Regions from separate parts of the Homo sapiens genome. Here regions 2, 3 and 4 are each linked to region 1. Evidence: promoter capture Hi-C in human tissues and cell types (Jung and others, 2019). All regions are on one chromosome and are shown on one strand. Each heading gives the region's core, a stretch centred on a gene start or on the middle of the fragment in contact. The rest is flanking DNA. Distances are from core to core; before and after follow the strand shown. Region 1 holds the start of HAO1 (hydroxyacid oxidase 1). Region 2 has its middle 33 kb from the start of HAO1. Region 3 overlaps HAO1 (hydroxyacid oxidase 1). Region 4 overlaps TMX4 (thioredoxin related transmembrane protein 4).

Evidence for each region. Contacts are between HindIII fragments. The study calls those that stand out against the background at their distance.
Region 2: a contact is called between a fragment that was not itself captured here and the fragment with the promoter of HAO1 in region 1, in 3 of the 25 tissues and cell types used here (H1 embryonic stem cells, dorsolateral prefrontal cortex and pancreas).
Region 3: a contact is called between a fragment that was not itself captured here and the fragment with the promoter of HAO1 in region 1, in 2 of the 25 tissues and cell types used here (aorta and hippocampus).
Region 4: a contact is called between a fragment that was not itself captured here and the fragment with the promoter of HAO1 in region 1, in 3 of the 25 tissues and cell types used here (H1 embryonic stem cells, hippocampus and liver).

What each region holds. Positions count from the first base shown.
Region 1 is chr20:7,938,642-7,941,895 of GRCh38, reverse strand. HAO1 (hydroxyacid oxidase 1) reads left to right here and starts at 1,438. Exons shown (of 8, transcript NM_017545.3): 1 at 1,438-1,610. The coding sequence starts at 1,474. The HindIII fragment of the contact is 11,188 bases long and covers 1-3,254 here.
Region 2 is chr20:7,971,798-7,974,700 of GRCh38, reverse strand. No RefSeq gene overlaps it. Among named protein-coding and RNA genes, the nearest start is that of HAO1, 33 kb to the right of the region's middle. The HindIII fragment of the contact is 4,514 bases long and covers 1-2,903 here.
Region 3 is chr20:7,891,539-7,894,593 of GRCh38, reverse strand. The region is part of intron 5 of HAO1 (hydroxyacid oxidase 1); the gene reads left to right. Among named protein-coding and RNA genes, the nearest start is that of HAO1, 47 kb to the left of the region's middle. The HindIII fragment of the contact is 4,901 bases long and covers 1-3,055 here.
Region 4 is chr20:7,989,589-7,992,656 of GRCh38, reverse strand. All of the region lies in intron 5 of TMX4 (thioredoxin related transmembrane protein 4), which reads left to right. Among named protein-coding and RNA genes, the nearest start is that of TMX4, 29 kb to the left of the region's middle. The HindIII fragment of the contact is 6,623 bases long and covers 1-3,068 here.

The DNA of each region.
Region 1 (3,254 bases), core at 189-2,688:
CTAAATGCCCATTAAGAGACAAATGGATAAGGGAAATGTATAGATATACACACAATGAAATATTATTCAGCCTTATAAGAGAAGGGAATCCTGTCATTTGCAGTAGAACCCAGAGAACATTATGCTAAGTGAAATAAGCCAGGCACAAAAGGGAAATTATTGCATTATTTCACTTATAGGTGGGATTTTGTTTTAAAAAAGACTTCAAATGCACAGAGCTAGAGAATGAAACAGTGAATACCACTAGTGGGAAGCAGGGAAGAGGAAAAGGGGTGATATAGGTCAAAGGATACAAAATAGTAGACACGTAGGATACATAAATCTACAACAGGGTCCCTAACCTTTTCGGCACCAGGGACAAGTTTTGTGGAATACAATTTTTCCATGGGCAGTGGGGGTAGGTGGATGGTTTTGGAATGAAACTGTTCCACCTCAGATCATCAGGCATTAGATTCTCATAAGGAGTGGCGCAACCTAGATCCCTCGCATGTGCAGTTCACAATAGGAGGCGGAGCTCAGTCTGTAAAGCTTGCTCACCGGCTGCTCACCTCCTGCTGTGCAGCTTGGTTCCTAACAGGCCACGGACCAGTACCAGTCCATGCTGGGGAGTTTGGGACCCCTGGTCTAGAGAGCAAACGTGCAAAATGAGGACTAAAGTTAATAAAATTGTATCATATTAGGAATTTTTGTTAAATAAGTTGATTTTAGCTGTTCTTGTCATACACACAAAAAAGTAATTACGGGTGAGATGATACATATATTATATTGGCCTCCCTACTGTAACCATTTTTCTGTGTATATGTATCTCATAATATCATGTTGTAAACCTCAAATATACAGAATGAATAAAACAATTAGCTGTCAATTTGGCCTTAATGTTCCATGTTAAAGCCAAATGTCTATGTTTGTAATCAGCTAAATTTTATATTGTGCAGAAGCCCTGAATTTCACGGATGCCCCATATTTCATGGATGCCCCGTTCAGTTCATAAGCTCTTGTTTACATGATTTGTGCATGATCCAAATGTGGAAAGAAAATGAGTGGGCAGCCTATTCTGGGTATCAAGCAAAGAGCACAGGCACAGACCATGTGCAATAAGCAGCCTTAGGCAAAACTGAACCAAGAGTGGTTTCATACAGGTATTCCTCTAAGTCTTTAATTTTTTACTTATTCCTTTCCCCTTTTTAATGTGATAGACACCTAATCACCTTCTGCTGCCTTCCCAACCTCAACTTTGGTGTTCTTTGGCAGATAGTGACTTCGGTGTTCTTTGGCAGATAGCCTACAAATGAAATTTCAAAGGCTAAGCATATAATGTTTGCTCACTTGATGTAAGCAACAGAGAACTAAATCTGAACTTTGGCAAAAGTCTATTAATAATTGACAAATAACAGAACAGTGAGGATGTAGAAAGCAATACATTAAAAAAAAAAAAACAACGAACTCCATCTGGGATAGCAATAACCTGTGAAAATGCTCCCCCGGCTAATTTGTATCAATGATTATGAACAACATGCTAAATCAGTACTTCCAAAGTCTATATATGACTATTACAGGTCTGGGGCAAATGATGAAGAAACTTTGGCTGATAATATTGCAGCATTTTCCAGGTAAGAAAATTTATTTTTTAAAATCATGTTTTAAAATTACACAAAGACCGTACCAAAATAAGATCTCCTAGTTTTACGTTGGTGGTGTGTAATTATTTGTTCAGATTTGTGCTTAGTAGAGAGGGAAAAGTTCTTGGGGCTGTAAGAAATCTTGGGCCTTTAAATTGTTAAAAAATATTCCAAGCCTGTGAATCTTGAGGAACTGACTGCAAAAGCCAAACCTATGTTACTTCACTTGGAAATATGACAACAATTAATTTAACTACATGTAAAAATAGCGATAAATTCGGATGACTTTTCTTTTTCTTAGTATGACAGTAAATGCTTATGTTCATGGTGTAGGAAACAGCATTAAATGCCAGATAACCATCTTATCCGGATGAACCAGACTGGATTGTTGGCTCAAATGTTTTCTTCCTGCTGGCTTTTCGTGTTATCATTCATTTTGATTACTGTTGTCTAAACTTTCACTTTAGATTTCAATTTGTCTATGCAGCATTAATCTTTCAACTTTGCTGTTTCATCTCTCCTTCAAAGCACTTCATCTCTCTTCCCAAATTAGTTTTCCTTTGACTTTCATATTTCAAAGCACAAGATGGTGGGTGACATGGTTTATGTTTTCTGTTTGTAATAAAAACAAGAAATAAAATCATTTCAAAGGGTTTTTTTTTATAGCAGTTACAAAAATGGTTTATTTGCTGGAGCAAGAGAGGAGTGCCTTCACTACACTACACTCAGTCTCATCCATCTAACATTATGGCTGTTAGTAAAGGCAATCGGTATTGTGGGTACTCATTGATGGTGATAAAGACAAAAAGGCAGAAAATATGCAGGGGGAGAGAATTAGCCTTCCTCCCTGATTTCTTCTTTAGTCTACAACAAAATCACTCAAAATCAGTTTTCCATATTTAAATTAGGAGAAATAAAATTATCCTGGCCAAGGTGGTCTCTGGTAGGCAGCACTGATTCACCCACAAATCCATGTAGAAGACTGAAAATGGCAATGGGGTGAAGGATACGGCCTCTCCCCAACCCTTTCAAGCCTTGACTTTGTCTCAGGTTTTGCCTGGAACCCAAATGAGCTCAACAAATGCCAGGGAAGTCATGGGAAGGGAAGTTGACTGAGAGTAGAGGGGCTTAAAATTCTGCATCATTATTTACTATTTTGGACTCATTTAAAAGTTTCTGCTCTTGGAAGATGCCCCTTCTTGGGCCGATATTAACTTTGTCCACCAAAATTTGCCTATGAGTGGTCTCTTGAAAACACTTTAACCCAAATAGGTTATTACAACCAAGGAAATTTCAGACCCTTGACAGATTTATAGAGTTAGTGTCTCAGCATTGCTAGACCTCCAATGCTCAAGTGATTATTTATTTCATTTGTATACAGCTTTCCTTACTTCTTAATTCCCTTTGTCGCATGCTAGCTAATTAACTAGAGCTAATTAGGAGTCTCCATGAGCTACACTGTGTACTACATGCTGAGGACAAAGCAGTGAGCCAGACAAAGTTCCTGTCCCTAGGAACTTACATTCCCCTGGATGCATATCAGCCTCCATAATGCTGTTGGGTTGAATTGATGCAAAATGGGCCCAAAATAGTTGGCCAAGTGGAGGTCTCAGAGAGGATGCAAAGGGGCGCCCC
Region 2 (2,903 bases), core at 121-2,620, 33 kb before region 1:
TTGGAGTTTGAATTTACAGTAGCTTCATAGTCTCAAAAGGACCTAAACCAAAACAATTCTCATAAAAAGGCTAATGGGGTCGGCGGGATGTGTACATGGTGGGGCGGCGGGGTGGATATACTAGCAGAAGCAAGCACAGAGCTGCTGTTGAAAACACCCTCAGTCTGGCTTAAAGATTCCCATAGATGAAGTCTCACTTAAAATAAACTTGTAATTCAAAGTTACAAATCACACAAGGAAACTGTTTATCAGATAGCAAGGTGAGACTTGCCTAAATCCTTTGGATAAAACTGTTAAATAGAAGTTTTAAATTAAAGGAAAAATAAGCATGTAACACATAACACAAAAGAATTAGGCACTTTTTTTCCCTCAAAATAGTGTATTTTAGGTTCATCCATCTTGCATGTGTCAGTAGTTCAATTCTTTTTATTAGTGTGTAGTATTTCATTGTATAAATATTCAATGTGTTGCTTATACCTTCCACTGTTGACAGACACAGAGAGAGTTTCTAGTTCTTAGCTGGTCCTTTGAATATTTTGATTGTGAGGCATTCCCTGGACTATTTTACTAAATCTTTGGGAGAAATGCCAAAATGTTAGAAATATATTCCTCAGGATTTTCCAAGATTTGTTCTTGTATCATCAGAAAGCAACATATATTACCCTAGCAAGGAGCAGATGTTTGAGAACACAAACACTAGAACGAGTCTTCCTGGGGTTGGATCCCAGGAAGACTCTGGGATCTGCCACTTGCCAGCGGTGTGAACTTGAGTAAGTTACCCAACTTCTCTGTGCCTCATATTTGCAATGGGGATAATAAAAGACTTCCACATCCACTAATGAAGGTCTAGACGATTTTAACCACCTCTCCCAATGAAGACAACTAGGAAAGCTGAATTTAAAATATATGTATAGCTACACACTTGAAGGCATCAAAGTATACAAGATGATGAAGGATATCAGGCCAAGATCTAGGAGAAATTGTAAGGTCAGGAATGTGATCCTGTTGTTTGGGGCTGTTTTTCTCCTGAGGGCATTTACTGTTCCTGGAGTAGGGGTAAGGGGTGTGTTGAGAGGCTGAGTGATGGTTATGAGGGCTTTGTCTTCTGAGGGGACAGGGATTGGCTAAGGATGGGAGGGCCTGTGAAGGACTCACATTAGGAATAAGGATGAACCATAAGTCAGCAGACCCCACAGACACTGAAACTCAGCCTTGGTCTATCCAACTTCTGAAATCAGAATGATGTAATCCTGGAAGTAAGTGTAAATGCTGGGGGAAGTTAACTGGTAGAGGTTGAGTTCCTAGGTTGGATGGTGGGTTTTCTACCTTTTTTTGCTATGAGATAGAAAGCCATAGTTTTAGTAAATCCTGAGGTTCATAAAGCTTTATCATTGTGGACTATCGCATTCAAAGGACTGTAATCTAGCTATCAAAAGTGAAAATTGACTCCTTATTTTTCTTTCATTCTTTGCCTCTTTTAGTCCCCAAAGCTATCCTCCTGCTCCACTTCCCCTCTTTTTGTTTTTATGCCTGAAATTTCTCTAGGGTGTTTCCAAAGTGCAAACACTAATTGTTCTCTTTTCCTAACCACTCTCCTCTTACCTACTACTCCTCCGTCTTTACTCCTGAGAGAAAGCTCCTTTCTCCACAGTTCCCTTCTAACAGATATCCCATCTCTGCTTATAAGATTCTTCTCACTGCATAATAAAGCCATGGAGCTCCAGGAAAGTAGTAAATACCAAAATGGCATTGCCAGAATTTTCCTTGACTGGGGAGGAGGTGGGTGGGAGGCCATGAATATCCATGTGTCAAAAAGAGCTGAGCCTATGTGTCTATTACACTTTACATCTGCTGCCCCCCAACTTCTCTAATGTATACTGGGTAGATCAAAATTCCTGTCAGGCACTTCGCAAAGAAGTTCAAGCTTAGCTTCCTCCACCAAAATTCATCATTGTCCTCTCTGCAAACATTGTAGGCAGAGAATGGGAGAACTCCCTGATGGCCAACATATTACATTTAGGATTTAATGACACTCTCCCTCCCCCTTCCCCATTTGGAGACTTTCTAGTCCTCTCCTCCAGTCCCCATTCCTCGGGTAAAGAAAGATGATTTAGTATTAAATACCCTCAGGGTGGAAACTATCACTAGATGCTCCTCTTCTCCACGATAGAAGTAAACACCAATCATGTCCAGTCCTCCCAGTTTGGCTAGGCAGACAGGGGTGACCCTCATGTGGACTCATCCATGTTGAGTTCTTAAAATCTCTCATTGCAGGAAACCTGCTTGCCCTGGAGGCAAATTGGTGCCCAGTCTCCAAGAAGAGCTCTCTGTGGGCCCATGCTTGGGATTTGGATCCTGCTTATGTTCACCCTTATAAAAAGACTAACGAAGATGGAGTGTCTTTACTATGACTTCTAGCTCCCTAAATCTGCTCAAAGCCTCCAGTGTGAGCCCCATTAGATGGTCTTGGAGGCGTTACATTTCATTCATTGTCCTCCTCAGGTTAGGTCATCTTCACCAATAATGAGAGGTCATATGACTCTTGCTTCAGGATTAAAACCCAGAAAATCATGGCTTGCTCACCCATCTGCTCCAACCAGGACATTTGCCAAGCCTCCTTCCATCACTCCTGGCAGACATTCCACCTTAGGAATTCTTTTAGCCACTTACTTCTTATGGCTACATCCTCTCAGAAACATCTATAACATGAATGGCAGCTTTTCTAGCTTTAACTTTATAAATTGCCCCTGGTGTAGGATAGTAGGTGCTGCATTTCTTATTTTTGTGTCCATACATCTTATAACATTTTAGTGCAATGCTCAAATCACAACTCAAGGTTTTTTGATTTGGCCCTTCCTTGGCCTGTTATTTTCCACAAATTTCTCAAGTTTCTGGGAGCTATT
Region 3 (3,055 bases), core at 276-2,775, 47 kb after region 1:
GCTGCAAATAGGCTACTCTGGCTGAGTTGTGAACCACCTTGGCTGCACATTGGAATCATCTGGGGAACTTTAAAGAATCCTGATCTGCTCCCCAGGTCTATTTATCAGAATCTCTGGTTGGGGCTTAGGGGTGTATAGGCACTAGTATTTTTTTAAAGCTATCAGGAGATTCCAATGTGCATCTTTGGTTTTTATGCACTGGAGTAGGCAAATCAGAGTCCAAAATCTAGATGTAAAAGTGAACTAAACTGTCCTGAAAGGTGTGGGACTGAATACAACTGTATCGAAGAGCAATTAGACCCTGAAGATCCTAAAGCCAAGAAAACCGACAGAGGCACTTAGGGCAGATTTTAAGATCAGAGACTGGGGGTCCAGAAATGGATCCGAAGCCATGGAGAGGGACACATTTCCTGGGGTGGATTTTATGGATCCATGATCCAGAATGGGGGCCGGGGGCCGTTGGTGGGGTGCTATCAAGTGGTTCCCTTATGTGCTGTCCACTTGTGGGGATTTGGCCAAGCCTCTTGTAGATGGAGCAATGATGTTGCAGATATTTTTTGCTTCTGCTCTGGCCCCATGTGGACCCTCTTTGCAGTGTGATAAGCCTAAGAGTAAAATGGGAAAGAGTGAGATGTGCTCAGGGAATACTAAATAATCCATCTTGTTTGCAGTGTCTGATGCTGTAACTGCCCAACCGTTTCTCCTTGTCCACTGTATAGACAGAGCCAATTTATCAAGACGGGGAATTGCAATAGAGGAAGAGTTTAATTCACGCAGAGCCAGCTGTACTGGGAGATTGGAGTTTTATTATTACTAAAATCAGTCTCTCTGAAAAACTGGGTTTTAGGGTTTTTAAGGATAATTTGGTGGGGAAGGGGTTGGAAAGTGGCGAGTGCTGATTGGTCAGGTGGGAGATAAAAATCATAGAGAGTCGAATTGTCCTCTTGCTCTGAGTCAGTTCCTGGTTGAAGGCCACAATACCAGATGAACCAGTTTATCAGACAGTGGTGCCAACTGATCCAGGTACAGGGTCTGCAAAACATCTCAAGCATTGCTTTTCGGTTTTACAATGGTGACGTTATCCCCAGGAGCAATTTGGGGAGGTTCAGAATCTTGTAGCCTACAGCTGCATGACTCCTAAACCATAATTTCTAATCTTGTGACTAATTTGTTAGTCCTGCAAAGGCAGCCTAGTCCCCAGGCAGGAATGGGGTTTTGCTTTGGTAAAGAGCTGTTATCATCTTTGTTTCAAAATTGAAGTATGAACTAAGTTTCTCCCAAAGTTAGTCTGGCCTACACTCAGCAATGAACAAGGAAAGCTTGGCCGTTAGAATCAAGATGGAGTCAGTTAGGCGAGATCTCTTTCACTGACATATTTTTCTCAGTTATAATTTTTGCAAAGGCGGTTTCAGTGGGAGTGGGAGAGTTTTGGGAAATGCATCTGCCTGGATAGATAAGGAAGGAGATCCTTGACTATTATGAGTCATTGGGTGTGCAATAGAAGAGCCTTGGCTTAGCAGCAATGAGTCTCATAAAGTGGATTTTGTCATGACAAGAGGCAGAAAGGCCAATGAGGTAGTCTTTAAAATTACCATAGCCAAGAAAAGAGAGAAGGAGGGCCTGAACTGCAGAAGGACAGAGGGAATTGCTTTCTGCTCCCTATCTTGGTTTCTTCATCTTTTAAAATTTAAACCTTTCAACTGTAATATTTCATAATGTGATTTACACAGGCAAAGTAACTAGCATCATATAACAAAACTTTATATATCTATGCATATTTACTAAGTAATATATATATTTGTCATATATATATATTTACTATCTATCTACCTATCTATCTATCTACTAAGTAATGTGGGTGAACTTTCCAGACCACCACCTCTCTCAGAACTGGATTCTTATATAAATATTTTCCCTTTTATCGGAACCCTTCAGTGGTAGTTATTATATAGATGGTTGGAATTGGGATGACCATTTGAATTTATCCACACAACTGGAAAAAGAGTAGAACAAATACTTTAGCCAACTAGTAGTGGTCTGTTGTTTCACTGAACTAGCAGGTTGATTTAGTGACATTCATAGACCAATTGTGTGGCTGTGATGGCGGAGTAAATGATGGCAGGGAATATTGGGTGTGCATATTGCGTTGAGTTTTTCCTAAAGCACTAATGGTAGGAACCAAGTAAGTCTTTGTATATTGTAGGATTATACAGTCAAGTGGTGGCTCACGCCTGTAATCCCAGCACTTTCAGAGGCCAAGGCAAGTGGATCACTTGAGGCCAGGATTTCGAGAGCAGCCTGGCCGATGTGTGAAACCCCGTCTCTACTAAAAATGCAAAAATTAGCTGGGCATGGTGGTGCACTCCTGTAATCCCAGCTACTTGGGAGGCTGAGGCAGGAGAATTGCTTGAACCAGGGGGTTGGAGGTTGCAGTGAGCCGAGATCCATGCCCCTGCACTCAAGTCTGGGCAACAGAGTGAGACTCTGTCTCAAAAAACAAAACAAACAAACAAAAGATGAAAAGTAATGAAAACTGGAAGTTGTCAGCTCTTTGCAACTCAGTTTTGCTCCCAGAGACACACTGTTCTAGGTGATATTAAATGTTGGTTGCAGGTAAACAGACGTGGAAAGTGAAGACCTCCTCTGAGTAGGGTGGAGAGGTTGGTCACAGCACAAAGCTTTTTCTCAGATTCATGACTCACTTGTGTATGGAGATGTAGACTTAGTGGGCGGGCCAAATTGTTTTCTAAAAATTAAATATAAATCTACTGAAATCAAATCTAACTAGATTTTAAGGGAAAAATAGCCAAATGGTGTTGCTTATTTCCCTCTCGCTGAGAGAATATGGACACGTCTAGAAGGGCTTTTGAGTTTGTTCCCTGAGACCGTTTTTTAAAAAACAATAACCGAACCTAAGACTTGAAGCTATAAAAATTCTGTAAGATAACATTGAAAAAACCCTTTTAGACATTGGTTTAGGGAATGATTTCATGACCAAGAATCCAAAAGCAAATGCAATAGAAACAAAGAGAAATAGCTGGGAGTTAATTAAACT
Region 4 (3,068 bases), core at 121-2,620, 51 kb before region 1:
GCCGAATTCCTATCAACTCAGGAGTTGGTTTGGTTTGCATTTGGCCTTCTTAACTTCATACCAACCTCCCCTATGTTCTTGCTTGAGTAAACTGTTGAGGTGAGAAAGTCCCTTGAATAGTCTTATGAGGCAGTTCCTGTCAGCTTCCTGCTGTTACCCTGAATCCCAGGGATCCTCGATATGTCATTCATACCACAATATGGACAAGAGTAGATGATCTCCAGTGTTCTTTCCATCACTAAATTTAAATTTTCTTTCCAATTCACTCATGATGGCGCTCACCTGCATATTTTAATTTTTATATAAACTCACAGAAGTAATTACCTCATTAGCTGTTAATATCTATCCTCACAAATAGTCTCAACATTTTACCCATCTCACAGATGGAGTCACTGAGGCCTAGGAGATGGGACAGTTAGAGGAGTTTCTCAGAGAGTTGACATCTTCAAAGGACAAAATTGATTTTGATTTTATATTATAGTAGCAATATCCAATTTCTTTAAAATTGTATGCAACTTAGTGACTAAATGAAAAATGTTAATACTCTAATGGATAGTACAAGGTGAGGTGAATATCATAAAAGCAATGTGCAGAAGATTGAACTTCAGGAAGCATCACTGCCAAGTCTGGTGGCATAGTTAGGATTAGAAGTTCTTGGGTTTTGTGTGTGGCACATGTGTGGAGAGAGACTGTCCAGTCTTCTGTCTTCCCTCTTTTCACAGTTGGCTACAGTGCTACAGAGTGGCACTATCCTTCTCTTCCAGAAACACATCATTGTTTCACACCTTATGTGTAGGCCCCTGAATCCTATTTTTTTTTTTTCCAGCCATAGACTTGTTCCTAGAACCCTTTGAGTGCCTAGTGCAGAATCTGGTACCTAGTTAATGTGCTTGATAATTGCTTTTTGTTAGTTATATGTATTAATCATTATTGTCTTCATTATTTTACTTTTTCCTTCTCTTTATAGCCAACGTGGAATACTTTAACTTTTGTTAATTTTTTTAGCCAATGCTGATAGCAGGCTTAAAATAGGGTTCCGTGGCAGTTGCTCAGCATATAGGTTGAGCATCCCCAAATCCAAAAATCCAAAATCCAAAATGCTCCATAATCTGAAACTGTTTGAGCACCAACGTGACACTTAAAGGAAGTGCTCACTGGAGCATTTTGAATTTCCGATTTTTGGATTTGTGATGTTCACCTGGTAAGTGTAATGCAAAAATCTGAAAAAATCAGAAATCTGAAGGCTGTCTGGTCCCAAGCATTTGGAATAAGGGATACTCAACCTGTATATGCTTTTGCGAACTAAGTTTAGCATTTAAATGTATTTAAAGCATTTTTTATTGGATTTGTTGAATCTCTGCTGCTCACTGATAATATAGGATGTAACTTCCCTTTCCTAAATGTTACTGTCGTTTTGAGAGGATGTAGGCATATGGCAGATTTTAGCTAAAATAAGATGTGCTACATCCTTGGGAGGACAATCTGTGTGATGGATGCTACCTTCCCTTTTTATTAGAATGACGTGACAGAAAACTTAAGGCTTTATTTAAAATATCTGATGATGAGAATTAAAAGCCATGAACATTTAGACTAGAGAAGAACAAAGTGTATTTTAAAACTTGAAAACATTCTTCTGTGATTTACATAGCATGCCTCTTCTCAATGTTTTTTTCGTATAAAAATGTTTAGAATGTTTTGTAGAATGTTATAGTGAGACAGTGGTGCACATCTGTAAGGTACCTTTCATAGATCCTACAAGAGGCTGCAAGGTTATGTTTTGTTACAAGTGCTAAGAGCTAAAGCATGAAAGAGGTGAACCCTTGGCCATCATTGAAGAGTCTTTTCTAGCTGTTTCCTTGCAGGGAAGATATTTTGGGGATTCTGATCTGTGTCTGAAAGAGATAAAGGGCTTGTTCCAGAACTCCTCAGAGAGTATATCCTATGACACAGGTGAACTCTAAATCCAAAGGCTCTCTGTCCTTCAGGGCCAGTCTAGGTTTGAATGAGACTCTGCAACACTGGGCTGGATGAGTGGGTGTGACTAAGTAGTATTTAATCCAACCTGCAGTAGTTTAGACTTCCAGAGGGAGTGCTTGCCTTTCTGGGGAGGGAAGGCTCTACCTCAGATGCATGGAGGCCTTGGCTTGGCTGTCTTCCTTAAGTCTGTCTGACCACTGATTAGAATGCTCTTCTCATTTATTCTGTTGTAATGATGTTTTAATTTCATCTTCTCACTCAAATATGTATGTAGCCAAAAGTTAGCTCTAACTTAATCATGTACTATGATAGTATAAGGTGTCACACCCATCAGATGACATTTTAGTGCATTTTCAGTGAACAGACTAAGATTTTTTTTTTTTTTGAGGCAGAGTCTCACTGTGTCACCCAGGCTGGAGTGCAGTGGGGCGATCTCAGCTCACTGCAACCTCCGCCTACCGTGTTCAAGCAATTCTCCTGCCCCAGTCTCCCAAATAGCTGGGACTACAGGCGCCTGCCACCAAGCCCCACTAATTTTTGTATTTTTGTTAGAGACAGGGTTTCACCATATTGGCCAGGCTGGTCTCGAACTCCTGACCTCGTGATTCACCCGCCTCGGCCTTCCAAAGTGCTGGGATTACAGGTGTGAGCCACCGCGCCCAGCCCGAGTAAGATACTTTCTTATTCATCTAGTACCATAGTATAAGGTATCATGCCCATCAGTTTACATTTTTGTGCATTTTCAGCGAACAGCATGGGATATTTCCTTGTGGTAAGCACATATAATATTGAATAAGGATCAGTATTTTCCACAAGTGAAAACTGTCACTTTGCCTGGTAGTTAAAGAAACAGAAACACAATGATCTAAAACTGAATTGGATTTTATTTAATAAGCTATTCCTTTGGAAACATATATAAAGCAAAACTTCAAGGACATGGTACCACTAATCCTAACACTCATAAGGGGCTTTAAAGCTGTTGTAGACTCAGACAAAGTAGACAGATAAATATTTATATCTGTAGTTGTGAAAGTACAACCTGATTAATGAATAGTTACTAATAATGACCTAAAAGACCAGAAGATGGCAGA